Regions from separate parts of the Homo sapiens genome. Here region 2 is linked to region 1. The links are contacts of gene promoters, found by promoter capture Hi-C in human tissues and cell types (Jung and others, 2019). All regions are on one chromosome and are shown on one strand. Each heading gives the region's core, a stretch centred on a gene start or on the middle of the fragment in contact. The rest is flanking DNA. Distances are from core to core; before and after follow the strand shown.

The links. The method cuts DNA at HindIII sites, captures the fragments that hold promoters and counts their contacts. A contact is called where the count stands out against the background at its distance.
Region 2: a contact is called between the fragment with the promoter of LIN7C here and a fragment that was not itself captured in region 1, in 1 of the 25 tissues and cell types used here (heart right ventricle).

What each region holds. Positions count from the first base shown.
Region 1 is chr11:26,747,421-26,752,475 of GRCh38, reverse strand. No RefSeq gene overlaps it. Among named protein-coding and RNA genes, the nearest start is that of SLC5A12, 28 kb to the right of the region's middle. The HindIII fragment of the contact is 6,078 bases long and covers 1-4,783 here.
Region 2 is chr11:27,502,819-27,508,096 of GRCh38, reverse strand. It overlaps LIN7C (lin-7 cell polarity scaffold C), which reads left to right and starts at 1,328. Exons shown (of 5, transcript NM_018362.4): 1 at 1,328-1,381. The coding sequence starts at 1,345. BDNF-AS (BDNF antisense RNA) reads right to left here and starts at 1,245. Exons shown (of 7, transcript NR_033315.1): 1 at 1,199-1,245. RefSeq lists enhancers at 922-1,211, 1,282-1,411, 568-1,767. The HindIII fragment of the contact is 14,064 bases long and covers 1-5,278 here.

The DNA of each region.
Region 1 (5,055 bases), core at 495-2,994:
GATTTTTTTTTTTTTTGGTAGAGTTGAGGAGTCTGAAGCTCAGAGCACTTGTATTATTACTTTTAATGGCAAAAACCGCAATTAACTTTGAACTAGCCCAATATTTCCCAGTTTTACCAAACTAAGATGACAAAAGCTAGACTAGAATTCAGTCCCCTTTTCAACATTTCACACATCCCAAAAGATACAATATGTACACATACACACATATATATGTGTGTGTGGGTGTTATATGTGTGTGTGTGTGTGTATATGTATATAATATATATAATTGCAATATAATAAAATAAGCATAAATAAAATACATACTATGTAAATAAAGTAAATATATGTATAATGTTACATGTGTATAAATACATACGTAAATATAAACTATCTCCTTTTCCTTTGTCCCTCTCTTGACAAATGCCAAAGAAGACTCAGGCTAAAGCTTTATTCTCTCTTCCTGTCTCATTTTCTGTTGATTCCATTTTATTTCTATTTTGTGTTGATTTGCAGTTGTACTACTCTGAGAATAGTTCTTCATCTTCATTTGTGTTAAAAATCAAGTTTCCGAAAAATTACAAACCCTTTAGACAATCTTTTACCTCCCCTGATTCAACAGCCTGCCTCTAGAGCTGGGGTTCTTAGAAAGCATTCTACACATACGCTGCTTTTTTTCAAACTTTAATTTTACAGAAAAAAAAGGAGTGTATCAGTTTTCTATTGCTGCTGTAAGAACTTCAAGAAACTTAGTGGCTTAGATAATAAATTTATTATCTCACAATTCTCTAGGTCAAAAGTCTGAAATTGGTCCCACTAAGCTAAAATCAGCATGTCGCAGGTCACATTCCTTCTAGAGGCTCCAGGGAAGAATCTATTTCCTTGCCTTTTCCAACTTCTAGAGCCAATCTGTATTCCTTGGCTAGTGGGCCCTTTCTCCATCTTCAAAGCCACTGATGTCAGGCTAAGTCCTTCCCATGTCACCATCTCTCCTTTTCTCCCTGTTCTGCGTACCTCTTCTGCTTTTATAAGGACTCCAGTGATTCCATAAAGCCCTCTGGGATAATCTAGGATAATTTGCCTATCTCCAGTTTAATTTACCATCTTAATTCCATCAGCAATCTTAATTACTCTTTGCCATGCACCTTAACATATTCACATAGAATGTGGACATTTTTAGGGGGCTACTATTTTGGCTACCACAATGATGAGTTAAACAAGGCTCACAAGAATTAGTACAATGAAACTTATATTGTCTTTAATTATGACATCATGACATTTCTCTCAATATATCTATATTTATTGCTACACATAGATGAATACCATAATAATTATTTATGAAATTTTAAACAAATGACAGGCATTATGACCCTTCATACTTCAGAAAGTAGCTTCTAAGAACAAGGATATTCATTTATAATCGCAATGCAACTAGCAAGTTTAGGAAATTATCAATGATACAATACTATCATCTAATATACATATTTCAATAGTTCTTCCCAAACTATCCTTCACAGAAAAAAAAAATCCCACCCAGGATCAGTCATTGCATTTTGTTTTCATTCTTCTTCAATCTCCTTTCTCTGCTATGAAACTGACATTTTTGAAGAGTATAGGACAGTTTCTACAGGAAGTCCCTCAATGTGGGATTTTCTGATTTTTTTTTCCTCATGATGAGATTCAGGTGATGCATTTTTGGCAGAAATACCACATGAATGATGCTGTGTCATTTTAGTGCACTCCATCATGGGGCATGCATCTGGTATCAGGTTGGCCTGTAACGAATTGGTAATGTTAGCTTTGATTACTTGACTAGTGGTGTTTACCAAGTTTTTACACTGTATAGTTGTCATTTTTTTATTCATAAGTAATTAATAATCTGTGGTGAGACATTCTGAGACCAGAGAAATATTCTAATCCTGAGTCCATCAAAATTTCACCCATTGCTTTTAGCATACACTGTTGATTCTTGCCTCAGTTATTAGTAATAGCAATGGAAAAACGGGAATTAAAAAACCCAAATTCATTCTTTTTGACAGTGTTTATGGAAATACTTCCTCATGACCATATTGAATTATAGTTTATGGTAACTGAGCAAAGCCCATGAATATCTTCATCTCTCTAGAGTGTTGGGGACTCTGATTGTATTACAAATTTGATTCAGTATTATCTTGAAATGCTTGAGTGGAAGTCAGGCCATTAGAGTTTCTGGAGTTTCTTAGGTCTTTCATTTTACTAATTCTAAAACATATGGCCTCTGGCTGAGTACTTGATAATTGTTTGGAGTGATTGAGGCTCAATAAGTTTCTACTAATTTTATAATATCTCTCAATGCTGGGCTTACTAACATGGCAGACCCAAGAGATGATGCAATATCATGCCTGTCATTAAGAAACACATAATCTAGTTAGAGAAAATGATAAAAAAAAAAAAAAACAAGTATAGTTAGGAACAGTCTCTGAGATTCAGAACCTTTGTGAAAGAACTGTAGATTAATTGAGTCTTTAAAATTGAATAGGATTTTAATTGGAGGAGAAAACTAGGCTGGTGTTCAAGGTAATAGAAACTGCATAAACTACATGTGGAAGCAGAAAAGAAGACAGCACTGCTGGAGAAAAATTAGGGCAACTACTGAAGAGGAAGATTCATGTTGAAAATTAAAGAGAGGAATTATTTGTAGAAGTAAGATGATGCTAGCTACTGAAAGTTGTTGAAGTTTTAGACGAGATGTTTCACCTTAAAATGACAGATAGAGGTTCTTGAGCAAGATGAAAATGGTATTTTAAGAAAATTACACTGTATAGGTGTGCAGGATGGATTAGAATGGATGGGCACCTGCGGTAGAGAGATTGGTTAACAGGCACTGCAAAATGCTTTGTAAATTAGAATGCATGATGCAAAGGCTTATGAATGTGAGAGAAAGAACCATAATGAATGCCCTTGGGATGCAGAAGGTGGGGTGAGTTTAAGAGATTTCAGAGTAAGAGTCAAAGTAAGTTAGAAGGATATCTCAGCCTAACAGCTGAGGTTCACATCCAGTCTACTTCTGGCTCCTGGCAGACAGTAAGCACACACCATAACTTGGTTGTGTCTATTTTTAAAAAGGATGAAATTTGTATATGGGATAATTACTCAGGATTTCAGGATCTTCACATTGACTGTCCATGTATTATATTCCACCTTGTTCTAGAAAGAATTTCAGAAGGCTTATTAAGTGATTTGTGCAGCACAATAAAATATTGTAAATTAGCCTAGGTTAAATGTGGGCAAAGAAATAAAGAAAAACTGTAAAGGAGTGGATCTGAGACAGAAACATTTAAAAAGTCTAATTCTTCAAACTACAATAAGCAACACATTTAATATGGGTGTGAGCCAGAAATTTTGGTCTAAACTTTCTGGCAGTAATGTCAAAAGTGAACAACCTGACTATTAAGCCACAGCATCATGCAACAAAACCAGATGGATTACTAGATAAACTTTTAAGTAATCTTGGATTACTTAATTGAGAGGATAACGTCTTAATTGCATGTGTTTCAGGTGAAAATTATTTTTCTCTGCAACAAAATTCTCTCTCTCTTTCTTGACACCCTCCACCCCCACCCCATTAGACACAGATGCACACACAGAAAGAAATACCAAAGCTAATAGTAACTGAAGAATAGCTAATGTCCACATTTTCCCATATCAGGTAGTTTTGATGGATAATTTAACATTCCTTCCTCTGCCAAAAATAATTCCAGACAATATTCCCTTGATATACAAATATACAATTGATTATTTTGCACTTATTTTAGTGATGGGCTTGATAAAATTAAGAATTTATAGATAGGGTGATTAGGAGAAGAGAAGTGAGACAGAACAAAAATGAAATTTTCTTTTAGATTTTTACTATGATATAAAAACTTGTGAGCCAGTGTTTGACCTTGATTGTAATAAAGCTACATCATGAAGCTTAACTGAATCTGTTATAAGAAGTTACCTAAATTTGTCATGCAGATAATATTGTGTATCTAAGGAAATATTAGAAAACTCATGCAAGTCAAATGTGTAGGAAATCAAGTGCTGATGGAAATAACATTTAGAAATAAGAACACAATGTCATTTACAGTAAAGTATAATGAGCTGCTAAATTAGGTACTGTGGTCTCAAAAGAGCAAAGTATTTTTGAACAAACCCAAGCCAAAGTAAGTTCTCCAAATGAGAAAGGCTCATTAAAGTAAGATGTTTGGGCTCCATATTTCTGTCATAATGATAATCAGGTACTCCATAATAAGGCGTTGGTGGATTACTGCTTTTATAGGCAAAGCCACTACAAAGTCTTGGCATGTTTCATTTTTGTTACATCCCAGCCATCAATCACAACCGACTCTATACAGCTTCTAAAATAGAAAGAACATTTCATTTAGCAAGGGAGAATTTTATGGGGCTTATTAAATAATACCCTTGTGAGCAAACAGAGATAAAGAAATTACCTTAATTACAGTTTGAAATTTGAATGGAGAAACAAACACACATATTGGACAACATAAAAACACATTCGTTATATGACAATTGGAAGAAAGCTTGTGTCCAAGAAAATAATAAGTCCTAATGAAAAGGTCATGAGCTTTGGAATTATATAAATCTGGATTTGTGTTAAGTGTATGATCTTGGGAAAGTAGAACAACTTTCTCGGTCTCAATTTTCTCACCTGTAAAATAAGAAGAGCAATACCTATTTTTCAGAGTGGATAGAAAAAATAAGGAGATACACTGATTAACATACCTTGCACATGGCCAAGGCATATAGAAGAGTCAATACATAATGACAACTTTTTGATTTAAGGTATTTTTTGACATTCTGCATAAAGGTATAGTCCTTATTTTTAGAAATACAGAGTCTAATAGAAAGATGTGCAACACGCAGCGATACATTTTTGACTGAAGCTCTAGAGTCTGAGATGAAGATAAAGGGTGAATGAATTTAAATAGTTGTAACAATAACAATAACAGATACTATACGTTGAGTACTTATTATGTACCCAGTCACAATGCTAAAAGCTTTAATACACTATTTAATTTTATTCTGTGAATA
Region 2 (5,278 bases), core at 79-2,578, 760 kb before region 1:
CAAGACCCCCATCTCTACTAAAAATTTAAAAATTTGCCAGGCATGGTGGTGCTTGCCTGTAGTCCTCGCTACTGGCAAGACTGAGACAGGAGGCTCTCTTGAGCTGTGATTGCACCACTGCACTCCAGTCTGGACAACAGAGAGAAACTCTGTCTCTAAAACAAACAAAAAGACTTGGAATCAGGAATAAATATGGTTGAAACTATACTATCTGGACTGAAGTGGTGGTTGCACTTAGTGGTAATGAGAAATGAAGTTAGTTGGATGAGTTAGGGTCAGAGTATGCAAGGCTTTAGAAATAGGAAACAGGAGAGAAACCATTGAAAGTTTCTGAACAGAACTTGTGATGATGAAATCAGAATTCAAGGGGAGAAAAAGGAGCATAGTGGTGGCATCCATGATGGATTTGGAGAAGAAAATACTAAAGGTGAATGGAAAGGGTGGACCAGGGGCAAACAGGTTATTAAAACAGTCCCATCATGAAGTGTTGAAATGCTGGATGTAAACACACCTACCACAGTATCAGTACAGACTAAGGGCTTGGATAAATGTTAGTCAAATCCAAGTACTAAAATTCTTCTTGGTTCGCGAAAATTTCAGAAGTGGCTCAAAAATCTGTAATGCATTAAGAATATTATTTGCTTCACAATATTTCATTTACTTAAGATTTTATAAGAATCAGCTGCTTATAAAATTGTTACTTTGTGGTGCACCAAAGCACCTTGTTCTCTCCCTCACCCAGATATGTTTCATGCTCTTTGTACTTTCCACCCCTTAACAGATTTGGAGGGAAGATTCAAGCCGTGGATTTTTAAATTTAAAGCAATGCTGTCACAAATTGAGAACTGACAACATGTCATTACACATTTAATTGCCACCGAATCCCAGAGTTTAAAAATTGTAAGGACCTAAGAGATAGGACCTCTCGTTGTACAGATGCGGAAACTGAGGCTGAGAGAGGGTAAGTGAACAGTCCCAGGTCACAGAGCTGCTAATGGGCAAGGTGGGACTAGAATCCAGGCTTGACTCCTCTACGCTGAGCCAAGGGTTCGAAGCGATTGGGATAAGGGAAGCCTGAGGCAGGGAACGAGAGTCAGGAAAGCAGCTCTTCCCAACCCTAGGAGGCCGGGGGACCTCGTCACCGCGGAAGGAGCGGAGCCAGGCCGACCTAAAAAGCCGCAAGTCCAGGTACCCTTACCCTGATGGCCGCGGCGACACACTCGGCCACCTTCCTGATCTCGCGATACTAGCCGGTACTCACTTTTCCGGCTTCCCCTAGGCCCCGCCCCCCCACCTCAGCCCTTCTGTCGTCATTTCCTGTGGGTCTGTAGGTTAAGGGAGAAGATGGCGGCGCTAGGGGAACCCGTGCGGCTGGAGAGAGGTGAGTGCAGCCGAGGCTCGGCGGAGGTGGGCGGAAGGGTTGGGGGAGTGCTGTGTCGCTGGAGGGGAGGAGGAGTGACCCAGGCTCTGAGATCCGGGCCACGCTGTCCCTTGTGCCGGCGCCAGAGGCCGCCGTTGTCTCTGTGCCTGGCTCTAGGAAGGGCGCTTACGGTATTTTGTCTGTTAACCGTAAGCCCTCCTCTGTTCACACGGACTGTTCCAAGGCACAGCACAACTAAACACAACCTGCCCGCTTCGCAGACACACGCCGCACACGCGCTCCCTTGGTGAGCACAGCAGAAGCAGCATTCGGAGACCCGTACACCCGAAAAGCAAACGTCACACACCCGGTTCGCACAGACTACACTCATTGCCTGTACAGCACGAGAACGGACACACGGTACAATTCAACAGAACCTCCTTTCCCCGCTGTTTGCACACAAACTCCTTCATTACTTTCTCCACAACCTCGCTTGTATTCGGGTTGGGGTATTTGCTAGCTTTTGTGCCCCTCCTAGAAATGGAGAGGTTGCTTTAAAAACAATCCTACTGACTTGGTCTTGGGAAGGAGGTTACGTAAGTAAGCCGAATAGTGGTAGATGCTAAAACACTTGCAGGTGCAGTGTTTTTCATTTCTTACAAACCCTACAATTGCAAACTGGTTGGCTGATTGCTTCCTAGAGCAGACTGTCAAGGAAAATAAAACCACCTCTGCTGAGTAATTAGAGATAGAGAAGCCTACGAAAATAACTGGCTATGCGCCTACCATGATTTCCAGCATTCCAGCGTTTCCAGTCCTTTTACAGATTTCCAGCATTCCACTCTGTCCCTAAGTCCTTTATTTCAAACAATTTCAAGCATGCTTTTCATACACCAGCATTAGAAATCATTGATAGGAATTGAGAAGTACAAATAAACATTTTGAGTACTGGTGGTAAAAAAAAATGTATATGTAGGATGGAGACTGAAATTATATTGCACATATTAACATTTGCAATTAGTCTAAATATTACTATTGTTCCCTAAGAAAACACATTTTTAGAATTACTGTACTTAGAAAAACCTCTTTCCTAATGCCTTCCCACAAACAAATGTGCACTTAATGTTGCTGATTTGCTCTTTACCGTGTTCACCATTTGGAAGCCTCACTGTAAATGAGATTGTTTCCGTTAAGCCTATTAAAGCATCATTTTAGAGGACTAGCTACTCTGGGAAGACTTGCCGAGTTAGGCCTAAGTCTCTGACATCTTCCTCTTGAGCACAGTGGCACTGTGTTTTATAGATGGGAGCAAATCTGTTTGGTGTTAACAGGAGTAAGTTTTTTCTTTGAAAGCTAGTTAAGATTCTAACGTATTGGTCTTTTGTGTTTTTGTTGTTGCTGTTTGGAGACGTAGTCTTGCTCTGTCGCCCAGGCTGGAGTGCAGTGGCGCGATCTCGGCTCACTGCAACCTCTGCCTCCCGGGTTCAAGCAATTCTCCTGCCTCAGCCTCCCGAGTAGCTGGGACTGCAGGCGAACGCCGCCAAACCCGGCTGTTTTTTGTATTTTAGTAGAGACGGGGTTTCACCGTGTTGCCCAGGCTGGTCTCGAACTCTTGAGCTTAGGAAGTCCGCCCGCCTCGGCTTCCCAAAGTGCTAGGATTACAGGCGTGAGCCACTGCACCCGGCCGGTCTTTGTATTTTTAAATGCAACACAAAATGTGGAACTTCTGTGGCATTTAGTTTTGATAGTCTTGGCTTTGTTTTTTGCTGTTACAGATTTCTTTTCTGTTCTTCAGTAGAAGACTCCACCTCTTAGTAGGATGAATTACAGTCAGCCCTCCATATCCATGGGTTCCATATTTCAACCAACTGCAGATTGAAAATACTCAGAAAAAAATCGTGTCTGTATAGAACATGTACAGACATTTTTTTCTTGTCCTTATTCCCTAAACAATGTGATATAACAACTGTTTACGTAGCGTCAGATATTGTAAGTAATCTAGAGATTATTTAAAGTATAGAGGGGGGATATGCATAGGTTTTATGCCAATACTATATCATTTTATATCAGAGACTTGAGCATCTGCAGATCTTGATATCTGTGGTATCTGAAGAAGGTCCTAATGAATCCCCCACTGTTACCAAGACAGCTGTACTAGTGGTTGCCATTTAGCAGGGTAAGAAAGTCAGATTACATCACCTCTGATTCTTGTTTAGAATTCTAACAGACTCTATTAACAAACACTCCCAACGATCCTAAAGTAGAAAATCCTACAGTACAATTACAATACAGTGCCTGATCACATATGATGATTTAGAGTGCCTTCTAAATCATCAAACTATGATTTAATGAAACACAAATTTGAGCACATAGTAGGTACATTTTAGATTTAGTCAAAAGCATTTTACTTTTTTCCATTTTTTTCTTCACTGGAAATTTTTATATGGCTTATATATTATAACTTTATAAATCAAAATAATTGATGAACCAACAGTCCCCATGTATCGGTCATTCTGGTGATGGGAAATCAGAATGGTGAAGGTCTATTTGCTTCCATTGCATTTGATTAACTTTTTAAGTTTAAGCTTTCTTTACCTCAAATTTAAAAATCTGCTTTCTGGCCAGGCGCAGTGGCTCACGCCTGTAATCCCAGCACTTTGGGAGGCCGAGGCAAGCAGATCACTTGAGGTCAGGAGTTTGAGACTAGCCTGGCCAACATGGTGAAACCCTGTCTCTACTAAAAATACAAAAATTAGCTGGGCCTGGTGGCAGGTACCTGTAGTCCCAGCTACTCGGGAGACTGAGGCACGAGAATCACTTGAACCCTGGAGGCAGAGGTTGCAGTGAGCCAAGATCGTACCACTGCACCCCAGCCTCAGCAACAGAGGGAGACTCCATCTCAAATAAATAAATAAATAATCTTTCTGCCAGGTGTGATGGCCCAAGCCTGTAATCCCAGCACCTTGGGAAGCTGAGGTGGGTGGATCATGAAGTCAGGAGTTTGAGGCCAGCCTGACCAACAGGGTGAAACCCTGTCTCTACTAAAAATACAAAAATTAGCCGAGCATGGTGGTGGACTCCTGTAATCCCAGCTACTCAGGAGGCTGAGGCAGGAGACTTGCTTGAACCTGGGAGGCAGAGGTTGCAGTGAGTGGAGATTGCGCCACTGCACTCCAGCCTGGGCAACAGAGTGAGACTCCATCTCAAATAAATAAATAAATATCTTTCTTTACTACATTTATTCATAGTTTTCTATCTGCAAACACGAAGAAGGCCATACTAACTCTATAAAGAAAAATTTCCAGTCCTTGAGTGTAACGAAATCAGGAACTTCTACTTAAGTCAAAAGGAAGCAAAGCAATAATAGAATACTGGGCATTGTAGTACCAGGGGTACAAAAACAGTATACCAAAACAGTTTTTGGAAAAATAAAAGTAGAGATAGTTAACAGTGTTATAGCTGACTTCCTGAATCTTCTAAAATGTCTCAATTCATAAAACACTTATCCTCACACTTCTCAGTGAGAATTCCCTAATGTGCTTCATACATTTGTATAAATGTATACAACCTCTTAGGGTTTTTTTTGTTTGTTTGTTTGTTTTTGTTTTGTTTGGTTTTTTGTAGATGGAGTTTCACTCTTGTCACCCAGGCTGGAGTGCAGTGGCACAATCTCAGCTCACTGCAACCTCCACCTCCTGGGATCAAGCGCTTCTCCTGCCTCGGCCTCCCAAGTAGCTGGGATTACAGGCACCCGCCACCATGCCTGGCTAATTTTTGTATTTTTTTTAGTAGAGTTGGGGTTTCACCATGTTGGCCAGGCTGGTCTTGAACTCTTGACCTCAGGTGATCCACCCGCCTCGGCCTCCCAAAGTGCTGGGATTACAGGCATAAGCCACTATTCCCAGCCAATATTTCTTA